Regions from separate parts of the Homo sapiens genome. Here regions 1, 2, 3 and 5 are each linked to region 4. The links are contacts of gene promoters, found by promoter capture Hi-C in blood cells and fetal thymus (Javierre and others, 2016). All regions are on one chromosome and are shown on one strand. The core of a region is centred on a gene start or on the middle of the fragment in contact, and the rest is flanking DNA. Distances in the headings are between cores, read along the strand shown. Region 1 overlaps C17orf75 (chromosome 17 open reading frame 75). Region 2 overlaps SUZ12 (SUZ12 polycomb repressive complex 2 subunit). Region 3 holds the start of SUZ12 (SUZ12 polycomb repressive complex 2 subunit). Region 4 holds the start of RHOT1 (ras homolog family member T1). Region 5 holds the start of UTP6 (UTP6 small subunit processome component).

What was found. Contacts are between HindIII fragments. The CHiCAGO score rates a contact against its expected background, and 5 or more counts as called.
Region 1: a contact is called between a fragment that was not itself captured here and the fragment with the promoter of RHOT1 in region 4, in 1 of 17 cell types (erythroblasts). The highest score is 5.3, in erythroblasts.
Region 2: a fragment that was not itself captured here is called in contact with the fragment with the promoter of RHOT1 in region 4 in 15 of 17 cell types (endothelial precursors, megakaryocytes, erythroblasts and 12 more); the score reaches 16.8 in endothelial precursors.
Region 3: a contact is called between the fragment with the promoter of SUZ12 here and the fragment with the promoter of RHOT1 in region 4, in 1 of 17 cell types (activated CD4 T cells). The highest score is 5.5, in activated CD4 T cells.
Region 5: the fragment with the promoter of UTP6 here is called in contact with the fragment with the promoter of RHOT1 in region 4 in 1 of 17 cell types (naive CD4 T cells); the score reaches 5.1 in naive CD4 T cells.

Annotation. Positions count from the first base shown.
Region 1 is chr17:32,333,641-32,336,340 of GRCh38, reverse strand. It overlaps C17orf75 (chromosome 17 open reading frame 75), which reads left to right. Exons shown (of 10, transcript NM_022344.4): 6 at 899-1,018; 7 at 1,502-1,566; 8 at 1,736-1,872. Among named protein-coding and RNA genes, the nearest start is that of C17orf75, 7.2 kb to the left of the region's middle. The HindIII fragment of the contact is 598 bases long and covers 1,000-1,597 here.
Region 2 is chr17:31,998,240-32,000,939 of GRCh38, reverse strand. SUZ12 (SUZ12 polycomb repressive complex 2 subunit) reads right to left here. Exons shown (of 16, transcript NM_015355.4): 16 at 1-2,282. The coding sequence ends at 1,937. Among named protein-coding and RNA genes, the nearest start is that of LRRC37B, 7.8 kb to the left of the region's middle. The HindIII fragment of the contact is 1,377 bases long and covers 621-1,997 here.
Region 3 is chr17:31,935,737-31,938,436 of GRCh38, reverse strand. It overlaps SUZ12 (SUZ12 polycomb repressive complex 2 subunit), which reads right to left and starts at 1,430. Exons shown (of 16, transcript NM_015355.4): 1 at 917-1,430. The coding sequence starts at 1,190. RefSeq lists an enhancer at 754-1,339 and a silencer at 1,080-1,539. The HindIII fragment of the contact is 8,448 bases long and covers 1-2,700 here.
Region 4 is chr17:32,141,111-32,143,810 of GRCh38, reverse strand. It overlaps RHOT1 (ras homolog family member T1), which reads right to left and starts at 1,309. Exons shown (of 20, transcript NM_001033566.3): 1 at 1,082-1,309. The coding sequence starts at 1,118. It overlaps LOC105371730 (a long non-coding RNA gene), which reads left to right and starts at 676. Exons shown (of 2, transcript NR_136413.1): 1 at 676-786; 2 at 1,098-2,585. RefSeq lists silencers at 1,029-1,088, 1,119-1,348 and an enhancer at 1,809-1,978. The HindIII fragment of the contact is 3,152 bases long and covers 774-2,700 here.
Region 5 is chr17:31,900,284-31,902,983 of GRCh38, reverse strand. UTP6 (UTP6 small subunit processome component) reads left to right here and starts at 1,276. Exons shown (of 19, transcript NM_018428.3): 1 at 1,276-1,448. The coding sequence starts at 1,357. RefSeq lists enhancers at 1,282-1,331, 1,017-1,608, 1,652-1,801. The HindIII fragment of the contact is 12,725 bases long and covers 1-2,700 here.

The DNA of each region.
Region 1 (2,700 bases), core at 49-2,548, 190 kb before region 4:
TTGGGAGGCTGAGGTGGGAGGATCGCTTGAGCCTGGGAAGTTGAGGCTGCAGTGAGCTATGATTGCACCACTGCACTCCAGCCTGGATGACAGAGTGAGACCCTGTCTCAAAAAAGCAAACAAAAACAATGCTTTCAGCTTGTAGCAGTTGTTAGTCATGACTCTCACAAATTTACTACCCATTACATATATAGTAGAAGTTATACTTTTCACATACTTAGAAGATACTGCAGGAGAGAGGAAGGGATAGTGCAGGAGTGAGCAACTGATGCAAGTCTAATAGAGTTGTTCTCCCGGACTAGAGCTCTTCGTGTGTGACACTAGTCTTCAGGGAGCAGTATAGCCTAGAAAGCCAGATGTGCTCACGGTAGCATGTCTGACATCTGGAGTGGAGTGGAGTGCTTTGATGAGTTACTTGTATCCTTCCCCATTCACATTCTGAATACGAATGAATTCTCTATCTACATGACTAATTCAAAAGGCACTTAATAAGCTCATACTATGCATGTTTTAGACACTGTACCACAGGTGCCAGGGAAATGAGGATTATTGAGTGAGTATCTCCATTGAGTGCACAGTACAGTGGGAGGAGAGGGACTTGTGAGTGCCCAACTCTTCCCTGTGAAGAAATAGCATGGAACCCTATTCAGTCTCTTCATTTTATAGAATGCATTTCTTGGTGTGTTTTAAATAAATTCAGTACAGATTTAACCCTCACCCTGCCCAACAAGCCAGGAAAGGTATATCACAATTTCTTTTTTTGAATTGGTGGTGTTAGCTTTAAAAAGGGAGGTGTCTATCCTGGTCTTTTTCACCATCAAGGATATGATGAAGAAAATATGAAGTCCACTAAAGGAAAGGCTTATATTAAAGCAAATGATGTTCTTTCTTGATTTAGGCAAGGGGCCTGGAGAGTCACATAAAATCCTATCTGAGCAGCTGGTTTGAGGATGTTGTATGCCCAATCCAAAGGGTTGTTCTTCTCTTTCAGGAAAAGCTTACCTTTCTGCTACATGCTGTAAGTACTGCCAAATGAGAGCATTTCCTTAACTGAGAATCACTTTGGATGATTTAGAAACATACTCATTTTCTCTGAACATGACTCCCATCCCTCCCCAAATATTCAAACTATGCTTGCTATCAAGATAGACCACACTTTATTTTCTCAGATCTAGAAAGTGATATTACTAAGGTAGAGTTGAATTTCAAATGCTGAGTCTTCCTAATAGGATAAAACATTTTAAAATAATTACTTTTCCAAGTGATCTGGGAAAGGTATAGTTTCCAAAACAATTTGAAAAGGAAAACAAAAATCCAGAGCAATTTTGATTCTATAAAATGTTAATGAGCAGTGGCTGAACAAGGCTCTGGAGAGCTTGTGACCAGTGCCCATCAATTGTTGTCCAGTGTGGTAGGGACTTATGGGGACATTTAGTCATGAGTAGCTGCTCAAGAAAAACTGGAATATATGTACCAATCAGGCTTTATTTTTCTCTCATAGGCTTTGAGTTACACTCCTGTTGAAGTTAAAGAATCAGATGAAAAAACAAAGAGAGACATTAACAGGTAAAGAACAGTTTTTTCAAAGAGAAAAGCTTTTCCACAGCAAGATTGACATCTGTGTTTGTAAACTGCTCCTTCCATCCCTTCCCCACCAGCCCAGTGCAAAATAAATTTGTTTTCATCCTTCCGTCCTGCAATATTGTTTGTGGAAATGGACTTGTGTGTGTGGCAGGTTTCTGAGTGTGGCCAGTCTTCAAGGACTTATTCATGAAGGCACCATGACTTCTTTGTGCATGGCCATGACAGAGGAGCAGCATAAGTCTGTGGTCATCGATTGCAGCAGCTCCCAGCCTCAGTTCTGCAATGCAGGTGAGCTACAACCTCTGAAGCAGCCTTCCTACATCTCTTGCGAGTCCCCATCTTTGCACTGAGAGCCTATGATACAACCTTATTCTTCCTGCCTTGTGCAGTTTTACATGGTTATCTCAAACCATGAGAAACCACTTGGTGAAAACAATATAATTCTAGAAACATGGAAATCATGCCATGCCTAGCAATTCCACACCTAGGTACATAAAGAAATTCTAGTATGTGTACACAAGGAGATGAATTTTAAAATGTCCATAAAGGCATTACTTGAAAAAGCAAGGAATTGGAAGCAATTTAAGTGTTTATCAACAAGAAAACTGATAAGCTGCTATATTCATGCAATGGAATATAACAGAGCAGTGAAAAAGAATGAACTAGAGCTACTTGTGTCAATATAGCTCTCAAACATACTATTTAGTGAAATAGCCATAAAAGAAAAAATACATAAAAGTTTTAACATATGCAGAATAATGTAGATAAGGCTTACACGTGCAAAGGTATATGGGAAAAGTTTAAAGACGTCTGTGGGAATGATTATCCTCTCTGATGGGAAAGGAAGGGGGATGTGATTGGGAAGGGGCATACAGGGGGCTTCAGCCATTTTGGTATTCCTTAGCCATGTGGTGAGCACACTGTTTTTTTAGGCCATTATACATGTCTTAAATAATTCATTATAGGTGTTTTTATAAAGAAATAAATGGGTCAGGCGCAGTGGCTCACACATGTAATCCCAGCACTTTGGGAGGCTGAGGCAGGTGGATCATCTGAGGTCAGGAGTTTGAGACCAGCCTGGCCAATATGGTGAAACCCCATCTCTACTAACGATAT
Region 2 (2,700 bases), core at 60-2,559, 140 kb after region 4:
TCTACTGTACCATTCAAATGCTTTATCATCTTACAGGATTTCTTCAAAATCTGTTATCAAGGGTACATATAGAAAAGCACTTTTTTTATAAATAGAAACAAAGGGATTTTTTCAGCTTTTACGATGACATAAAAAGTTTACTCAACAGAAGTAATTTTATTACTATTTGGGGTGGGAATCACCAACTTTTTGTGCAAACAATGCTAGCCTTCTTTTAAGCATTAAGAGCATAACTGCTTAAGAAATGACATAAGCAATAATTCTACACCTACATCTCCCCTAAAATAATCTTTTTTTTTTTTTTTTTACATATGTGCACAGCTTTAGCAAATTAAAGCCCGAGATAAACGCTCGAGATCTACTATCCAGAGGCAAAAATCAGAGTTTACTAGAACTCATCATTTGGAGAGCTTACCAATCAAGGAATCTGTAATGAAAGCTGCAGTTTCCCTCTTTCCTATTTTTTTTTAAACACAAAAATCAATGACTAAGAACTTAATACTGGATGACAAATCACATCCACACTATTCGTTAAATAGCCTCACAGTTAAACACATCTTAAAGACCAGTCAAATCAGTATTTACATTTTATAAATTTCTGAAGACACCATTAGAAAGCTTATATATCCCTTCATTAAACAAAATAGGGAACTGCATCTGATGGTGGTGGAATGAAATTTTAAAATTAAAAATACCTGTATTTACAGCAGCATTGATCCTTTATAAATAAAGAATATGAAAATGCAATATCTTTAAGGATAATAAAAAATTGAGGTGATGTTACTCAACCACAGTGCTCGGAGTTGGAATAAAAACCTATTGGTGCTTGTTAATGTGCCAGTAGTGAATCCACTTTCTGTTGGAGAAAATCCAACTGCAAATATGTGCGTGAAACACATATAACACAGGGCAAAATTGCTCAAAATGATTCAAGTCAGCTTATCTCTATTGGATATTCTATTCATGAAACACATTACAAAGACATCCTTGCAAACAAATAAAAGGCATAACAGTTTTCTGGTTGACTTTTTAAGAACACTTCTCCCCTTATAAGTGACATCTTAAAATCTCAAATGCGTTCTTTCCTTGGTTTGCAATCCTAATTTAAAGATATGAACAGCTTAATTTTCCGTGTGATTATCTAATTAAAAAAGAAAAACAAAACAAGCAAAATGTTCAAGTTAAAAAAAAAAAACATACCGGGTGAGCAATGCACTAAAATTATCCACATGAAAACAAATGGTCTGTAATCTTATAAACCAACATAGCATTTCACTGTCAACAATGTGAAAATTTAATATCTTCTCAAACAGGCATAAGATGAAGAAGTGCTATTTTTTAATTGTAAAAGGAACTTATGTAATGTAAAATTACATTATAATTTTTCATTCCGAATTGACAAATGATTTCAAAAACAAGGATCAAAGTTTGACTGCAAATAGTAATGCAATATAATTTCATAAAAATCCTTCAATTTCTATTTTTTTCCTTTTCTGTAGTTGACATATGAAGACCACTTCAATTTCTAAAAAAGGGAACCATTCCAATTTTCCCTCCCCAAGAAAATGTCTCACAATTACAAAGTAGAAAAACAGCCGTTCATAAATGCAAAAAAATTCTGATTTATATATGAAATAATTTCTAGATCAATTCAACATATTTGATGACATTTGTTGAGTTTAAAAATACTTTGAAATATTGCTTTTCATGCTTAAAGTACAGAATGTTTTAATGACATCAATAAAAGTGATATACATGTAATGCTGCATAATGAAGTGAAGTAGAACCCTGATACAAATATCCTTGTTGAAATCATTTACTTCATCTAACAGTGCCTGTTTGGAACATATGATTAAAAACAAAAACATAATTCTTAGAGGATGAATTCCCTAAAATGTAATTTCAGTGTTTGTCCATAACATGGGGTTAGAGCTTTTCAGAGTTTTTGTTTTTTGCTCTGTTTTGAAACCCCTGAGACACTATCTGTTTCCAAAGCTTTCTCTTTTGAGTTAATTTCACTAAATCCATTTGCTGTCCCATTTTGTTCTTCAGTTATTTCTTCGTTTGCAGGGGAAGCAGATTCCCCCTTTTCTAATTTTTGCTGCATTTCACGGAGCTTGGTAACAGCTTTATCTATTGACATTATGCTAATAAGATTAAAGTCATGCATGCTGACTAGATGAAGCATGAAGTTTCGACATAAATTCTTCTTAATTATTTTCTGTCCATAATTTTCTACAAACAGCATACAGGCATGATTCATTTGATTGTCAGCAATAAACCTATTTAATAAAAACAGAATATGAATAGCAATACAAAGCATTTTTGTCAAATGCAACAGTGATAACCATTATAATAAGACTATATCCAATTCCAGTAAAATAAAAGATGATTAAAGAAGCAGTAAAACTATAGAGAAACTGAAATTCAATCATCTGAATGAGCTTACCATTTTAAAAATTTCAAGAGATTTAATCTAACTTAAGCTTAAACAGGTACCATTAGAACAGCAGATATAATTTCTGTTCTTCAATTACATAAGCAGTCTTAAAAGCATAAAATATTTGGGCCAGGTAATTACGCCTGTAATTCTAGCACTTTGGGAGGCCGAGGTGGGTGGATCGCAAGATCAGGAGATCAAGACCATCCTGGCTAACACTGTGAAACCCCGTCTCTACTAAAAATGCAAAAAATCAGCTG
Region 3 (2,700 bases), core at 181-2,680, 210 kb after region 4:
TATGCCACAGTGAAACTGTAAATAAGGACACTGGGCGGTAGAGCCAAGTTTATTCAAGTTTCTGTAAGATTATTTAGCTATTAAAGATCACCCAAATTATAACACACAAAAGCAAAAAAGGGAACCAATCAGGATATAACATTCCTTAAAGAACAATCAGGATTATTCATAGTCACGATGTTTTTAATAAATTCTATTGTTTGTTTCCAGACACCTTGCTCTCCTTTCCAAATAAGTCAGTTTCACCTTCCAGACAGAACTTAGAAACAGAAATTGACGCAAGAAAATGTTCTGTAAGCCAGGTAGAAAAAGCAGAATTCCGGGGTCGTCTCCAGAGAAGATGCTTGACCACTCTCTGGCTCAGTTTACATATCCACAAAATGGGTGGATAGATTTGAAGGGTTTTAAGCATCCAAAGGTGCCATAGGAACCTGCAGCACCAAGTTAGCGCGAAGGCATTTCAGACTAAGGACACTTTCTTCGGTTCCACTGCACTCATCCCTTCACAGGCTTCATTTTGCCCCTCAAAAGCTACAACCGAAACCCCTGTATTTCTAGAGTCCGAAAGGCATGAAAGAAAACAAGAACCAGTCTCGGGATGTGACTGCGGCTCAGTTCAACTGCTACCTCCTCATCTAAAAGCCGCCTGCTCTGAACGTGGGGCCCCAGTCCCGAGCCTCTTGCGTCAATCTTGGGGGAGTCAAGAACCCGCCCGGACCCTCTTTTCCAGCTCTCCCAAGGCCCTGGACTCCGGATCCCCTGGAGACGTAATCTCCGAAAGGGGGACATCCCCTCAATTCCTCCCTCCACTACCACACAAGTGGACTCCCGAGGAGGAAGGGGGCCCAGCAGAGTGTCCCATCCCCGGTGTTGGCAGAGTGGGTCTTCCTGCCCTCAAAGCCTCGCACACACTCACTCTCAAAGGCCTGGAGGAAAAGCTCGTGGTCAGCCTGGACGTGCTCCATTTTCGGCTTCTTCACCGGTAACACCGCAGCCCCCGCCGCTGCCGCCGCGGAGGAGGAGGAGGAGGCCGAGTAACTGCCACCCCCTCCACAGCTCCCGCCGCCGGATTTGCCGCCCGAAGCCGTCGCCGCCGCCACCGCCGCCGAACCCCCGAAGCCGCCTCCCCCGGACCCCGCGCTGGGCCCCGAGCCGCCCCCTCCCCCACCGCCGTGCTTCTGAGGCGCCATCGCGGTTCCTGCCTCCTCCCCCCGCCAGCTACCCGCCGGGCGGCCCCGGAGAGCAAGCGCCTGCAATACCAACCGCTCGCCCCAGCAGGCTCCGGCGGACCGAGGGGGGAAGGAGGAGAGAGGGGAGGAGAGGGGAAGGGAAGGGAGGAGGAGAGGAGGGAAGGAGGGAGGAAAAAAAAAGTGTCTCCTCAGAGCCCCGCTCCGCTTCGGAGGCCGCTCACCCTACCCTGGCCTCGCTCCGCCCACTTCCCCCGCCCGGCGCTCTGATTGGCCGGCGGGAGCGCGCACCGCCGGGCCGCCCAGCCCGTTGGCCCGCGGATTCCCCCGTCAGTCACGCGGAGGCGCTTCTCGCGGAGGCGCGGCTTGGTTGGCCCGTGCGCGCTGCCGATCGCGGGCCCGGCCGCCTCTTTGAACTGAATTCGCGGGAAAATTAGGGGTCGGAGCGGCCTTCCTGCTGGCCCCGGTGCATTGTGGGGAGAGAAGGACCCAGCGAGCGGTTTAGCGAGTCTAGATCCTTAGTTTGTTGCCCCCAAACACCGTAAGAGTGGTCAGAGAGGTAAACTGGTTGAGAAGTACTTACATACACTCTTCTCTTCTTTAGGATCTATACCTTTTCAGCTCAGAAAGCTGAGAAGGAATCCGGTGTTTTGCGAGTCTTGCTTTTTTTTTTTTTTGAGACGGAGCCTCCCTCTGTCGCCCAGGCTGGAGTGCCAGTGGCGCGACTTCGTCTCCCTACAACCTGCGCCTCCCGGGTTGAAGCGATTCTCCTGCCTCAGCCTCCAGAGTAGCTGGGATTACAGGCGCTCGCCACCACGCCTGGCTAATTTTTTGTGTTTTTAGTAGAGACAGGGTTTCACCATTTTGGCCAGGCTGGTCTCGATCTCCTGACCTCGTGATCCACCTGCCTCGGCTTCCCAAAGTGCTGGGATTACAGGCGTGAGCCACCGCGCCTGGCCAGGTCTTGCTTTGAACGATAGACACATAGGCCCATTTCAGTCTTCTGGCACAGATTGGTTTGGAGTTGAGCTAATGATTTGAATTTCAGGTTGGACAAGATGATCTCTAAGGATGTTCTTCCAATTTTTATATTACGTTAAAATTTCAAAAATCCCAACCTATAAACATAGAACCATTTCATACTCTAAACAGCATTTTTTAAATGTCTACTTGGGTTCTCTATAGTTAACTGCAAAACACTGTTTACAAAACAAGTGTCTCTGGAATGGTTATTCAAGTTGTTTACAAAACTAGTTATCTTTGTAATGATTAAATACCTAAAGTACAGGTTTTATCAAAGCCTTTGCTACTTAAGAAAGTGATCTCTGCAAATGACGTATATAGTATTTGGCATTTCAGGAACACATCTGAAATTAGGTATACCTTCTTACCTGAAATAAGGAATGCCTGTTGTTAAGGACAAGCTATATTTTATATTCAGACAAAAAGTTCAGAATCCCCTCTTGTTTGTTACACTATCCTCTGTAGTCTTTTTTTTTTTTGAGACGGATTC
Region 4 (2,700 bases), core at 60-2,559:
CAGAATGCTTCGAAACAGCAATGGCAGACTATTAACGAATGTATTAACTCTTTAAAACAAACAATCCAGTTATCCCTGGCCCACTTTCTTATTTTAGTCCTAGCAACTGAGTTACATAACTTGCAGAGTGAAATCAAGAAGTCCCCGCTGTTGCGTCCTCATGTCAGTGAACAGAGGGAACTCTCCTTTATTATATTTTCAAAAGGTGAAATGTATGAAATTTCTGGGTGGGGGGAGATATCAAATGTCTGTGTGCCTGTGGTTATTAATAAGTTAACTACGAAGTAACTATGGAATAAATAATGCTTAAAAAGAGGGCAAAGATTACGCTTTAGGGTAACAACAATTGGACCCTCCCCAGATAATTCTAATTCATTGAGCGCTTGCATAACTCGAAGTTGAGTAAAAATTTTTGATGAAATATCTCGAGTACGAGGAGTTAGTCCAATGCAAAGTACAAGTACTGCTAAAAAGGATCCGGCCCTTTCCACTACTCATATCTTAATGTCAATACATAGAGAGAGTGAAGACTGCGAGTGCCAAAAAAATGCAGAAACCTGACCTTGCCCACAAGTCGAATAGTTCTGCACCCCTCCCCCAGCTTCCCCGGGAGCCGGTTCACGCAATCCCTATTGGTCAGTCTGCTTATTCCAGCACCTGCCTGGCAGTGATAAGGGAATCTCCAGAAGACAAGAAGGTCTGAAAGGAGGCGGCCTGGGAAACTGTGAGGCCCAGAAGGACAGGGTTCGAAGAGGAAAAGGAGGAGAGAAGCTTCGGAGGGATGAGGTCGGGCGGTTAGGGCTAATAGGGACATGGCTTGGGAGGACGGCTGGGGAACAGGGAAAGGAGATCTCTGGAGGGCCCAGGTGAGGTGACAGGGTGAGGGCCGCCGGCGGCCAGCCAAAAGAGAAGAGTGAAGGGGCTGGAAGGCCTAGGAACGCGGAGAAAGGCGAGCGGAGCTGTGAGGCGCGAGAAGGGCCGGGGCTGCAAAGGTTGGGGCTGCAGGGGCGACAGGGGCGACAGGGGCTGCAGGGGCAGGGAGGGCAGGGACTCAGGGGCCGGCCAGAGGGTGCGGACTCACGTTCTCCCACCAGCAGGATCCGCACGTCTTTCTTCATGTCGGCGGCTCTCGGGGGCCGGCCTCCGCCCGCACGCACGGAGTGGACTCCTCTCACCAGGAGCACCCACCCCACGGCGCCACCTGCCAGCCTCTTCGGCCGCCGGGGCCCGCCGCGCCGCCCCCTCAGTTGCTTCCCCGCAAGAGAGCCGGGACAGCGCCAGCTCCGCCTCCTCCGGCCCAGCGGGCTGTGGCGGCGGCGGCGGCGGCGGCGGCGGCGGCGGCGGCGGCGGCGGCGGCGGGGACGACGGCACGCGGCGAGGGACACGCGCTTTCGGAACGCGAACGCGCTCTGCGCCGGAACAGCGCTCCCGCTGTCAGGCCGCCGCAGCGCAGGCCCAGGGAGCCTCGCCCACCCTCCTTTGGGCACCGCGACCCCGGAGACACTTGGGCCAGGAATTTGAATGGCGGATTCCCTGGTTTAACCCCGTTTATTTTATAGATAGGGACAGAAATTCCCTGTTCAAAGTCACATAGCTAGAGCTTGGCAGTGACTCAGAGCAGGGATCTTCTCACCAGACCATAAACTCCGGGAGGGCAGCGATCAGCTTGCATGGTTTTCAGCTGCGTCCCCACGTTATTGGATAGGGCCGTCAGAAAATGCTTGATCGAGTAGGGCGACTGGCTCCCAGGATCCGGCGCTTTCCACTCCCCAAAGCCCGTCACCCTAGTTGCTTTTGCCTCTGATGCTTATAAAATACGATTATAAGATTCGTTTTTACGCTGTGTGAACAAGACTCCTTTCTTTATAACCAAACTAAGTGACTTTTTTTCTGTCTATGTAGTTTATTTTATGGCAGGGTTTTCGGACACTCTTCTTTACTCAGGCTTACCCAGCGTAATGCTAGACACGGAGGTGGCACTCGATAATAAACTCTAGATGATTTTTCTAACATTGCCTTAATTTTCTCGTGACCCTCTCCATCTGGAGGAATTTGTTGTTACATGCTTAATGTTTGGTACACAATGGCAAATATATATATATACATACGCGTGCGAATATATATCACATCCCTAATACTTGGCACACAGTGGGAAATATAAAATACATAAATTAATGAGGAAGCACTATCTGTGCATAATGTACATTTTTTCTATCTTAAATATTACACAATAAACACTTAAAGGGAATGAAATGTGCGTAATACCAACTTCCCTTTCTCCTAGGAGAAGTCATGTGGTCTCTTGCAGCAGTTAAGAGTTGCTGGCAAATTTCCTGGGTTTGAATCTAGGCTCCACATAATAGCTCTGTGATCTCGACTAAGTGCTTTTATTTTTACTTCCCTCAGCCACTGTTCCTTCTTCTGTAGCATGGAAATAATGATGATAATACCTTCCTCTTGAGATGGTTGTGAGTAATAAATACTATAATACTTGTCAAGCATTTGGTACAGTGCCAGACTCAGAGCGTGTGCTCTACTGATCTCAGCTATCATTATTATATTAAAAAGTCACTAAAAAGTTGTAATCCACAGATTTTTTGTTTTGTTTTGGTTTTGTTTTGAGACGGAGTCTCGCTCTGTCGCCCAGGCTGGAGTGCAGTGGCGCAATCTCGGCTCACTGCAAGCTCCGCCTCCTGGGTT
Region 5 (2,700 bases), core at 27-2,526, 240 kb after region 4:
TCGTGATTTCCTTCCACTTCTGACATGTCTTACAGCTGAAGGATTCAAGAAATGGTGTAGCACAAGCCAACCCTCGTCTCAGTTCTGAGATGAGTGGGTAAAATGTGAAAGGAAAGAAAGAAATGCAAGGCACAGAGGTGGAACATGGTTTTGCTGAGCCCATTCTCCTTTCATAAATCACACACAGGATCCAGGTGCTAATGTGAATGTTGAAATAAGCAGATTTAGCAAGAACTGCTGCTTTGGCTTTTTTATATCCAGAACTAAAAAAGAACTGAACCATGTAGTTATCATTTGAGGTTTACTAACTATACCAGCAATATTGCCTCCAAGCTGTGTTGCCTGGTGTTTCTCTTAGAAATGCTAAGTTGCTTGGGCAATGGTTTAAGGAGGGTGTCTATACCTTAGTGATTTATTTTGGTAATTCTCAAACTTTTCAATACAAAAATCTCCTTTTCTAAAAAGAATTTATAGTGTCTGATATTCACCTAGGGACATATATTTTGAAAGCTATTGCTTACAAAGACAGGATATTGATTTAAATAATAAACAATTCTATTTTATTTATTTATTTATTTAGAGACGGAGTTTCACTCTTGTTGCCCAAGCTGGAGTGCAATGGCGCGATCTCGGCCTCCCAGGTTCAAGCGATTCTCCTGCCTCAGCCTCCCGAGTAGCTGGGATTACAGGCGCGTGCCAGCACGCCCAGTTAATTTTTTTGCATTTTTAGTAGAAACGGGGTTTCATCATGTTAGCCAGGATGGTCTCGAACTCCTGACTTCAGGTGATCTGCCCGCCTCGGCCTCCTAAACTGCTGGGATTACAGGCATGAGCCACCGCGACCGGCTTTCAAAAATGTTTAATTGTACAATATCCTCCTCCTTTGCTTTTTTTTTTGTTGTTGTTCTTGGTGTTGGGAAGTCAGGACGTGGGATGGGAGACAATATTCTGAAGAAAATGCATCTCGTGTCCCTTTCAGGCTTGAGCAGCCCACCTCTCTACACCTGGAGGCGCTTTTCCTGATGGCTGTCCAAGTCTAGCGGCGCGCGCACTTAACCCCTCCCTCCCGTCTAGCCCCGCCCCTCAACTCCTGTCCGCTAGAGTCGTCCTGCCCAAGACCAGGGCGGGTTCTCGCTGCAATCCCACAATCGGCCACAGGGAGGGGACGGTGGCTGTAGAAGCCGAAGGGCCTTCCCCTAAGTAGGAGGTGGCGGAAGCGGAAAAGGCGGGACCTAGGGAGCACGTTACGTCCGGACGCGTCGGTGGTAGGGCTGGGTCTCCGAACCTGAAACCGGGAGCTTCCTGCTCGTGTTCGCTGTTGAGAAGCTACCCGCGGGGTTGTAGACCTCGGACCTCATGGCAGAGATAATTCAGGAACGCATAGAAGATCGGCTCCCGGAATTGGAACAGCTGGAGCGCATTGGACTGTTCAGTCATGCGGAGATTAAGTGAGAGAGGGTTGGGGAGAGGGAAGAGCTGAGGCGGCCTGAGGGGAGGTTGGGAGTGTGTGGCAGGGGCTAGATGTGGGGACGCTCGACCTGTGTTTACTTTTCCTAACGTGGTGGAAGCCCATTTCTCGTTTTCGGTGATGTCCAGAATTAATTTTTCATTCGTTGCAAGGTAATCCGTCCGTCTACTTACCCATCAGACGTTTTGACAGCCCTTCATGGAGCCGGGTCTTAGGGCTGTAAAGGTGATAAACCCAGGATTCCTGCTCATTAGGAGCTAATTGGGCAGAGTGTGGTGGGGGAGACAGACAAATTAAATATTTTGATAACAGTGTACTGTAAGTTGATTGTAGTACCTTGTACTGCTGTAGGGATGGGAACAGAGTGCTGTGAGAGCCCAGGGGGAGTGGATAAATTCCTAACTAGACTTGAAGGTGGGGACCATTGAAATCAGTTTCATATGCTACTCCAGAGCCTAACTACAGCGCCTGGCACATGGTAGACATTCAGTAGCGTGTTAAAATTATGTTTAATAGTTTTTAATGGTTTCTGTGACTGTTGCTTTGTTTTGCAACGTCTGAATGTAGTAATGTGACTCAGAGCTTCAAAGTAAGCATTCGTTAATGAAACACAAAACAAAGCAGTGTGGACGCTTAGAAAGTGCTCAGTTAAGGTTAATGTTACCATTACTAAAGACACCTGTCTTGCACATCTTGCATTAAATTCTCCTAATATATATTTGTCATATGTTCATTCCTTAGCTAAGGACTCTGAATCTTCTCCCGTAAGTCCTTCGTAGTAATAAGTCTTTTAAGGCAGACGCAATTTAGATTTTTAAAAAAATTTACATGTTGAGAACTCAGAAATAAGAGGAATTTCGGAAAGAAATTTATTATTAAAATTTAAGTGACCTGAACTTGGAGTAAAAGAAGTCTTTATTAATACCAGCCAGGCGCTGTGGCTCACGCCTGTAATCCCAGCACTTTGGGAGGCCGAGGTGGGTGGATCACGAGGTCAGGAGTTCGAGACCAGCCTGGCCAATATGGTGAAACCCCGTCTCTACTAAAAATACAAAAATTAGCTGAGCGTGGTGGTGAGCGCCTGTAGTCCCAGCTACTCGGGAGTCTGAGGCAGGAGAATCGCTTGAACTCGGGAGGCCGAGGTTGTAGTGAGCCAAGATCATGCCACTGCACTCCAGCCTGGGCGACAGAGCGAGAAAAAAACAAACAAAAAAAACACCATACATAAATGG